3 separate regions of the Homo sapiens genome follow, and all the other regions are linked to region 3. Evidence: promoter capture Hi-C in human tissues and cell types (Jung and others, 2019). All regions are on one chromosome and are shown on one strand. Each heading gives the region's core, a stretch centred on a gene start or on the middle of the fragment in contact. The rest is flanking DNA. Distances are from core to core; before and after follow the strand shown.

Region 1 (3,195 bases), core at 354-2,853, 180 kb after region 3:
AGTCTAGGTTATGAATAATTTGTACCAAAGTTTATAATAATATAGATTGTAATTAAGATGTGTTTTTAAATTAATTTTTTATTTATGCATAAATTTTTAATTTATCAATACATGTATTTTTATTGATAAATTGTCCTCCATAGTTATGGGGAACATCTTATATTTTGATACATTCATATAATGTGTAATAATCAAATTAGGGGATTAGGATATCCATAACCTTAAACATTTATCTTTTCTTTATGCTGGGAACATTGGAATTATTCTCTTTTAGCTATTTTGAAATATATAATAGATTACTGTTTACCATAGTGCCCCATAATGATTTATCAAACAATAGGTCTTATTTCTTCTATCTAACTGTATTGTTGTACCCATTAATCAACCTCTATTCAACTCCACTCCACTTCTCTGCTACTGGGCCCTGGTAACCACCAATCTACTCTCTAAGGATGCGTGTTATTCTTGTGACTTACCATGGCAGTTACAGATTTTGTTTCCAAGACAAGAGCTAAGTGGAAAAGCTCCAATCCCCTTAGAGGTTGGAATAGGAGACAGACATCTGCAAGTTCATCAAAAGTTGAACCGTCACAACTGTGTCATACACTCTGGGCTGAATCATTTATCTGATTATGTGGACTAAAAGAATGTAGATGTCCAGGGCATCAAAGGGAAGAAATTTTTCTATTGATGAGCTTTCTCAGGGCACCTTTCATATCCTTATTCCTCAAGCTGTAGATGAAGGGGTTCATCATGGGTGTCACCACAGTGAATAGGACAGCACCAATCTTATCAGTGTCCTCAGGGTGAGTGGAGGAGGGGAAAAAGTACACGCCTACAGTGGTTCCGTAGAACAGTAATGCAATTGTCAGGTGAGAGCCACAAGTGGAGAAGGCTTTCCACTTTCCCTGTGTGGATGATACTCCCAGGACAGCTCTGATGATGCAGACATAGGAGAAGAAGATGAGTACAAAGGGGAAGATGATAACTGATAAACCCACAATAAACAACACAAGCTCATTGATCATTGTATCTGAACAGGACAGTTTGAGCAGAGGGGCCAAGTCACAGAAGAAGTGTGGGAGAGTGTTGTGGTCACAGAAGAGCAATTGAATGAGCAGAAGGGTGTGTGTAAGAGCAATAATATTACTGAGGAACCACGAGATGACTGTGAGCAAAGTGCCGAACCTGGCCCGCATGAAAGTTGTATAGTTCAGAGGGTGGCAGATCGCCACAAAGTGGTCGAAGGCCATGGTCCCCAAAAGCAAATTGTCAGTGACGACAAACACAATAGAAAAGTACATCTGTGTGATGCAGCTCTCATAAGAGATGGATTGGCTGTTGGTTTGAATATTCACCAGCATTTTGGGGACTGAGTTGGAAATGGAGGAAATATCAGCAAAGGATAGGTAGGCAAGGAAGAGATACATGGGGGTGTGAAGGTATATATCCAAGCTGATAGCCACAATGATGAGCCCGTTCCCAACCACAGTGACCACATACATACTCAGGAAAAGCACAAAGAGGAGGTTTTGATGTTCAGCCTGGTTGGAGAGTCCCAGGAGAATGAATTCAGTGATGGTGGTTTGGTTTTCTTGATGCATATTTCTGCTGATCTGAAGAAAGGAACACAAAGTCTTCATACACCTACAAGAAAATTTAACATGGTGTCATTTGGCTGCAGCCATTACAGTAAGGCACTTCCTTTAAGCTGATGAGCAATAAAGCTTCTTCTGCTTATTAAGTGGAAGTGCTACTTAATAAGGAAGTATTTCAGCAGTGCAGAGATTTGGAAAATGCCACAGAAAAAGACAGGACATGGCAGATTCTTCTCAATGAACATGTTTTAAACTCTAACAGAATTCTGAATGTGATTTTCCCAGTTGGTTCTAAATGTAGGTTAAATCCCCCAAACTGAGGATCATAGGTGAGGCATACCCTATATTCTAGAGATGTTAGGTACATGTGCAGGAATTACTTAAAAGTTACCAAACTGGTCCCCAAATCATCTCCCTTGTTCAACTTTATGCCTTAAATCTAAGAAAGGAGAAATTTCAAGTCTCGTAAAAGTGAAGAGACTGGAGAAGGAAACACAACTAAGGGTTAGGAATGGCTATGGGAGTGTACACCATTGTGTGGGTGCTTCATCCCATTAACGCCGGGGGAGAACTCCAAAACAAGTGCTTTTGGAGAATAAGTACAAGTAGGAGCAATCAGGGTTTTACTTCATCTGTGGCTAGATATTAGCTTCAAGAAAATTTAGGGGGCACAGATACACTTAAAGACTTCTGTTTGCCTCTCATTTCTAAAGGTGAGGGGCTCACTGGATCAGGTCGTGATGGCAGGGTAGAGGGAAAAGATGGTGGTTAGTAGGGCAATCTGCATTTTCACCCATGACATGGCATAAATATGTGAATTTCCCATAGGACACGTGATGCTATAGGAGGTCATTGGAGTCAAGTCACCTTGTTGAGATTCCAATCCAGAGACAGCCTATTGGGGCAGAGGAGGCTGTAGCAATAAGAAACCATGAGGTGGGTCTCTTTTGAAAGAGAGATCTTAAAGAGATCAGGGACATAATTCATTGCCCTTGTCAGGGAACCGCATAATGGGGCAGTCTCCAAAAGGGAGCCTCTGACAATCCTCAAAATGATCTCAAGAGACACCATGCCTGCCACATATAAGGCACAAGCTGCTAGTATCTATGGCAACAGATATGAACACTTTTGCCTTTTTTCCCATCCCCATTCTTCCTCCCTGACCTGATAAAACTGAAAAAGAAGGAAAGACCAAAATGACTAAAACAACAACAACAATAGTAACAACAACGGTTTTGCGGGAAGAGAGGCCAAAGAGCAAGGGAAGAACATATGCTCCCACCTTTCCACTGTATGACCCAAGCTACACATCAGATCTGAACTTACAAGGTAGGACCCATGCTTTGAATTGATAGTGAAGCTGAAGTTTAAAATTGGGCTGGACTTGGTTTTTTAATACCTGGAAATGGGTCTTCAGTATCAAAGTTAAACATTTTTAAAACCTTAAGTGGCCAGAAAGGTAAACGGCTCTCACAAGGTGTCATCCAGGAGAAGGGAAGAGAGACTGGACCTAGTATGATTTTCCTTGTGATTTATTGGAAATAATTTCAGCTTGGGAACAAAGAGACATTTGTCCCTCTTTCTACTCTCCTAACAT
Region 2 (3,473 bases), core at 104-2,603, 180 kb before region 3:
TAAATTCTGACTCTATTTTTATCCATAATATAGGGATAATAATGCTGCCTATCTCATAAGGTTATTGTCTGGTTTAAATGAGAGAAAGCCTGTAAAGCACTTGTAAGAGTAATGGACACATGGTGGCAGAGCTGAATTTCCAACACAGTTCTTCCTGATATCAGTGCTTTTCTTTGCTATTTAGTCTTTTTTTTTTAATGAATAGGAAATTCAAACAACGTAGAAGTAAATAAAGCATCAAAGCCTTCCCTTTCCCTCTGCATCTCCACTTCCATTTTCATTTTTCACAGAAAAATATTTGCTGTTAAGAGTTTTATTCAAAACCCCTCCTATATATTTATAGGCATAAAAAGATACTTTTACATGCACAGTTCCCTTCTTCCCTTTCTCTCTTCTTTCTTTCCTCATTCCCTCCCTTTCTTCCTTCGTCCCTGCCTCCATCCCTTCCTCCTTCCTTTCCTTCCTTCTTTAAATAAAGAATGATGATTCTGTGTGCATTGTTCTGCAACTCAACAGTATGATTTGAACATCTGCCCATATCAGTCCCTGTGCAGAGCACTCTATTATATGGCCACACTAAATTTATTTGATCTTTCCCCTATTGATGGATGTTTTTGCTGTTTCCGATTTCTGCTCCATCAAATAATGTTTCATTGAAAATCATTTTGCCTATATTTTGCATATATGTGGGAGAAGCACAGTAGCATTTTTTTTAGTTGTGATGAGTTATATGGGGTAATGCTTCCATTTTTATTCTCTGTGCTTACCTAGGATTATTAGCATTTATTGAAGAATGCAGAGCTCAGTTAGGGGGTCTAGAATGTTGTCTTTGAGCAGGATTATGCCATGCACATTGGTAAGTCTGAGATACTTGCTGTGTTTTCATTTACTTGACACTGTTGTGCTGCTGAGCCAACCACTAACATGAGTTGAACTACATGTCTATGCCTCTAATTGCTGACAGTGTGCTGAGAAGAGAGGTAAGAGACCCACAGAAAAGTTTTAGAGATAATAATAGCAGACATGTAAAATTCTAGGGACTTTAAAATCACGGCCAGGCACAGTGGCTCATGCCTCTAATCTCAGCACTTTGGGAGGCCAAGGCAGACAGATCACTTGAGGTCAGGAGTTCTAGACTACCCTGGCCAACATGGTGAAACCCTGTCTCTACTAAAAAAAATACAAAAAATTAGCCAGGCATGGTGGTGCATTGTGACAATGTCCTGGGACATAAATTGCTCCCAGCTACTTGGGAGTCTGAGGCAAGAGAATTGCTTGAACCTGGGAGGCAGATGTTGCAGTGAGCTGAGATCATTCCACTGCACTCCAGTCTGGGCAACAGAGTGAGACTCCATCTCAAAAAAACCCAAAAACAAAACTCGCAGGGAAAAGCTTTTGTGAGAGATGGGCTTAGGATGAGGATTTGGAATGAATGTAATACATTATGTAATGCCCTAGAAGTATACTGGTAATACAATGTGATAAGTAACACATTTGACAATTTCTAAATTTTTAATTCCATGATTTATGAACTTAGAAACTATATATGACAGAGTGTTCAAAAAATTGTTTTGTGGGGTTTCACTTCTGTGTGAGGAATATTAATGTGAGGAGTGTTAAATGGAGCAGGACACTAGAGGTGGTAAGGACAGATTGTATTCAGTACTACTGCAATAGGGGAAAGAGACTTCAGTGTAGAACTGAGCTCAATTCTGAATACAACAAGGACAAATGGGGACTTATAGTCAAGGAGCAGAGTGAGGGAGGTCAGAGGATGGAAAAATTAGTTTGCCTAAAGCAGAGCTGTTACCTAGAGAGAAGCACACCAGTGATTTCTATCCCCACTACTCAGCTCTGGAACTGTGGCTCTGGTATCTTTCCTAGGGGGAGAGGCGGACTCTAAACAAATAAATCTAAAGTCTTCCCATAAGGAATGGAGTTTGATACAGGATGTAGGGAAGTTCAAGTCTAAGGGTTCTCTCAAACAATGGCAGTTTCATTAGAAAGCAATTAAGAGGCAGCTGGTGGCTTTATGATAGATACAAGCGAGCCCACTTACCAACTAGTTTACCAGAGAGCATCAGGGAAAAGGATTGCTAAGAAGAGCCCTCCTGGGGACAGAGCAAACCTTAAACATGCATCTCAAAAATGAACCCTGCAAGGGAGTCCTAATTTAATTGGATTAGCTGTGGAGCAATTTATGTCTCAGGACATTGTCACAAACAATAGAGCAATCAGCTGACAATTAGTGAAGCATAAGAGCTGGGAGTGATCAAGGGAAGAGGCAGTAGAAGAGAGCCCTGCTAAAATAACATTACTGACATCCTAGGGTGCCTGTGCATATGCCCAATGTTGCACCTTCTGAGGAACAACATCAGAGGCTTTACAGTGTGAAGGAAATAGACTTCACTAAAATAATCCACCCAGACAATATACAAACAGGCATACAACAATAACAAGCCTTGGCATCAGAGGGAGGGGAGTGATATCCAGAACTTCTACAATATATCATCTGAAGCATTTGTTTTCAACAGAAATTATGCTAACGTCAAGGAAACAGGAAAGTGTGACCTATACACAGGATAAAAATCAGTCAACAGAAACTACTTGTGAGAGGGACAGATGTCAGACTTAACAAAGACTTCAAAGTAGCCATTATGAAAGTAAGGAAACCATGCTTAAGGAAGCAAAAGAAGATAGGATGACAATATTTTATTATGTAGAGAATATCAGTAAAGTGGTAGAAACTATAAAAAAGAATCAAGTAGACTTTGTGAAGTTAAAAAGTTCAGTAACTGAAATAAAATCACTAGAGAGGCTCAACAGTAGATTTGAACTGGCAGAAGAGAGAATTGAACTTGAAGATAGATCAGCAGAGATTATGAAATCCAAAGACAGAAGAATGAAGAAAAATGAACAGAACCTCAGAGGTATCTGAAGCAGCTATAACAATGTCAGACAAAATAAAATTTAAAATAAAAATGTTAATAGAGATAAAGAAGGACATTTTATAATAATAAAGGGGCCAATCTATCAGGAAGACATAACAATTATAAACATATATGCACCTATTAACAGCATCCCAAAATACATGAAACAAAAACTGACAGAAATGAAAGGAGAGATGACAATTTGATAATAGTCCTTGGAGACTTCAATACCTTCAGCAATAGATAGAACAAATAGGCGGAAGATCGGTAGGAAACAGAAGACTTGACCATTATAAACAAACTAATCCTAACAGATACTCCAGGAGTAGCAGAATATAAATTCTTCTCAAGTGCATATGAAACATTCTTCAGGATAGACCATATGCTAGACCATAAAACAAACCTCAATACATTTAAAAGGATTGAAATGCTTCAAAGTATGTTCTTCAACTACATGGAATGAAATAAGAAATCAACAACTGAATAAGAGAAATTCACAAATACATGGAAATTAACACACTGAAAACCAATGGGTTAAAGAAG
Region 3 (3,265 bases), core at 473-2,972:
GCAATTCTGCCTCAGCCTCCTGAGTAGCTGGGATTACCATGTGTATGCCATCATGCCTGGCTAGTTTTGGTATTTTTAGTAGAGACAGGGTTTCACCATGTTGGCCAGGCTGGTCTCGAACTCCTGACCTCAAGTGATCCACCCACCTCGGCCTCCCAAAGTGCTGGGGTTACAGGTATGAGCCACCACACCCGGCCCAAAAGCTCTTTTACAGAGTCATTGTGGTTTTAAATATCAATTCAGTTTTCAAGTGAGAAAATGGAGGCACACAGAATTCAACTGATTTGCTTAAGCTCTTATAGAGTAGGGGTGCCGAGGGACTTTGTGGGGTTTTAGTTCTCCTTCATCTCCATCTGCCTCCTCAAGCCACCTCAAACCTACAATCTAAACAAAATCAATTTGCTTTTGTTATTCCAGGGCAGCTTCATGACCATTCCCAGAGTCCCACCAGATGGCCATTCCCATGCTGTCCCTTTATTGAAATTCTGTGGTCATCGCATAGTCCATAAGCAATAGAAGCAAAAGAGTAAGCAGGTTTTACCAGAGTGTACCTTTAAAGTTTCAAAGAACCCGCACATCCACTATCTCATCAATTCACAGAATGTTCTGAGAGACAACAAGAATAGATATTATTGCTGCCTAGAGATTAAGAGCTAGAAGCTCAGAAAGCTTGATTCTCACCTTGGTTCCTGTCTGCTATAGTGGACTCTCTGGCTTGGTTTGGGTCTGGGGTCTCTGTCACATATATGGCTGGAGAAGCCTCCCACTTATTTTCTTATACCTCAGTTTCCCATTTGTTCCCATCATAGGCAGACTATATGTCAGTAGCTTTGAGGAACAGATTGTATCTGCTCAGTATTGAAGTCCTGGAATAATGAGAGAAGCGCCCAGTTAATTGATCAGATTTTATTTTAGGAATATCACCCTCCCTGGGGAGGTGGTATGATGGAAAGATGGTGGGCTCTGGAGTCAGACTGGGCTGGATTCTCATCTGGACTCTGTCACTTACTAGCTGGTTGAAGCAGGGATTTTGAGAGCCCCACATACTAGGTCCTTTCCTCTTCCCAGCTACCTGGCAACTAAGCAAACCTAGGGCTTGGTGGAACAGAGTTTGAAAACAGCTGATAGAGTACAGCTTTCCGGGAAATTTAGAATTAAATTCTGTAGCTAAGAAAAAGAAATTATATGTAGAAATCAATTCAATTTGCCTCCCACCCAAGGCCATGAGAGCAGGCTGCTCCAGATATACAAGACATCATTCCTGCAGGCATTGTCAGTCTTGTAGTCCGTTGACAGTAATTGCATGGACAACACCCAAATTGATTGACTTTTCTGTAAGTATTGTTGAACTTCCTTTTCCTTAAATTTCCTTAAAAACAGGTAGCTAGAAATGGAAAGGAAACTAAGTACGCTGCCAACGTACAATCAGGAGCATGCAGCCACCCTTTTATTACATCAGTATATATTTATTGCATGTAGACTACATGTCAGTGACTTTGGCATTAGCAACACAGTAATGAACAAACAAACAAAGGCACTATCTTCAAGGAGCTTCCTTTTGTGTGTGTGTGTGTGTGTGTGTGCGTGATGTTATAGACAAACAAATAAATATCTACCAGATGGCAATGAAGCTGTGACCCAAAAAATCAAACTGAGAAGAGGGTCAGAGAGTGAAAGGAACTGCGTTTTCAGATAGGTGGTCAGAAAGGGCCTCTCTGTTAAGGTGGCCCTTGTGCAGGGAATTGAAGAAGTGCAGGAGGATGCCACACAGAGATGGTAGAGGGAGCGAAAGGAGCAAAGGCCCTAACTTTCCCTTAATGATGTCTCCTTCCATCTTTAGTCCAGCCCAGCAATGTACATGTTATCCTTCCCGTTTGAAGATGAAGACACTGAGGCTCAGAAAGATCAAACGCCTTTCCCAAACTCACAGCTACGGCCTGACGGAGGTAGGGTCAAATGCAGCTCCACTGATTTCAGAGACGGTGCTGTTAACACAGGGGGCTGTCTGCATGTTGGAAAGTGAGATGTGCTGTTGCTGTCACGTTGCAGTGGGAGTGGGGAAGCAGGCTGTGATGAGCTAGACCCAAGAGGAATCAGAGAGCAGGTCTCCGGGCTTCATCCTGGGCATCTCCTAGCCCCGCTGTCTGTCTCATAACACCCACCCACTGCGCCTGCTCACCTCGGTTTGTTGGCTGTTTTTTTTTGAAATCATTTCCTGGATCTTAGTAAGTTTATTTTCCAGTTCCTTTCACTTTTTGGGACTAGGCCCCCAGATGCCAGGTGGAGAGAACTGAAAGAGGGAGAAATCCAGCGTTTCTCACCAGGCTTGTCACGTAGCTACACAAGCAAATAGCTACAGGAACCAAGTTTCAATTTTCGTGCATGGGCCTCAAACTGTTTTTCCATATTTGTTAGGGAAAATCTTGGCCAGGGAGCACCGTCTTTTGAGGACACCAAATTGGGCCAAGTTCCTGTGCGGCCTTTCTCCTTATTTAGTGATTGCCCCGTGTGACCCTCTCCTCTCTGGCTGACCTCTTTTTTCCTGCATGGCACTTGGTGGATAAAGTTCCCTGAACCTTGGAGAGGAAGCGGATGCTGTTAATAGCCCTGGGAGTGTGACTGTGCTTTGCAGCTCACTGGAGCCTGTGGGATATTCCTCCAGCCTTGGCGGGGCTCCGAGCTGCAGGGAAATTAACCTCAGAGTCAGGGCAGGGAGCCAGGGTTGCAGGCACGTTGTCATTGGGTGAAATGAGATGGCAGAGGAAAATGGCACGGTGTGGAGGCTTTTTTTGTCAGAAGCTCTGGGGTTTGGCTCTTCTCTGTGCCATGTAGTTCTTTGATCTTGCCCAAGTTTACTTACTGTCTCTCTGAGCCTTCAGTGATTTCAATTGCGTGAAAACCAAGACAAATAACACCTCTATATCAAGAATAGTTCATAGGATCATAGTACAATATTGTGGGGATTAAGCCAGATGGTATCAGCCCATCAGAATCTAGCCCATGGGAGGGGCTCCGTAAATGACCCTTTCTTTTTGAGACGGAGTCTTGCCCTGTCGCCAGGCTGGAGTGCAGTGGCGCGATCTCAGCTCACTGCAACCTCCGCCTCCCGGGTTCAAGAGATTCTCCTGCCTCAGCCTCCTGAGTAGCTGGGGTGCCCGCCGTGCTACTATAGGGTGTGTCCTACAGGCGCACGCCACCATGACCAGCTACTTTTTGTATTTTTGGTAGAGACGGGGTTTCACCGTGTTGGCCAGGATGGTCTTGA

What was found. Contacts are between HindIII fragments. The study calls those that stand out against the background at their distance.
Region 1: a contact is called between the fragment with the promoter of OR1S2 here and the fragment with the promoter of OR9Q1 in region 3, in 1 of the 25 tissues and cell types used here (mesenchymal stem cells).
Region 2: a contact is called between a fragment that was not itself captured here and the fragment with the promoter of OR9Q1 in region 3, in 2 of the 25 tissues and cell types used here (mesendoderm cells and ovary).

What each region holds. Positions count from the first base shown.
Region 1 is chr11:58,202,539-58,205,733 of GRCh38, forward strand. It overlaps OR1S2 (olfactory receptor family 1 subfamily S member 2), which reads right to left and starts at 1,604. Exons shown (of 1, transcript NM_001004459.2): 1 at 666-1,604. The coding sequence starts at 1,604. The coding sequence ends at 666. The HindIII fragment of the contact is 9,459 bases long and covers 1-2,547 here.
Region 2 is chr11:57,840,582-57,844,054 of GRCh38, forward strand. No RefSeq gene overlaps it. Among named protein-coding and RNA genes, the nearest start is that of CTNND1, 81 kb to the left of the region's middle. The HindIII fragment of the contact is 6,432 bases long and covers 1-3,473 here.
Region 3 is chr11:58,022,159-58,025,423 of GRCh38, forward strand. It overlaps OR9Q1 (olfactory receptor family 9 subfamily Q member 1), which reads left to right and starts at 1,723. Exons shown (of 3, transcript NM_001005212.4): 1 at 1,723-1,946. It overlaps LOC107984331 (a long non-coding RNA gene), which reads right to left and starts at 2,261. Exons shown (of 3, transcript XR_001748218.1): 1 at 1,929-2,261; 2 at 682-866. The HindIII fragment of the contact is 7,062 bases long and covers 1-3,265 here.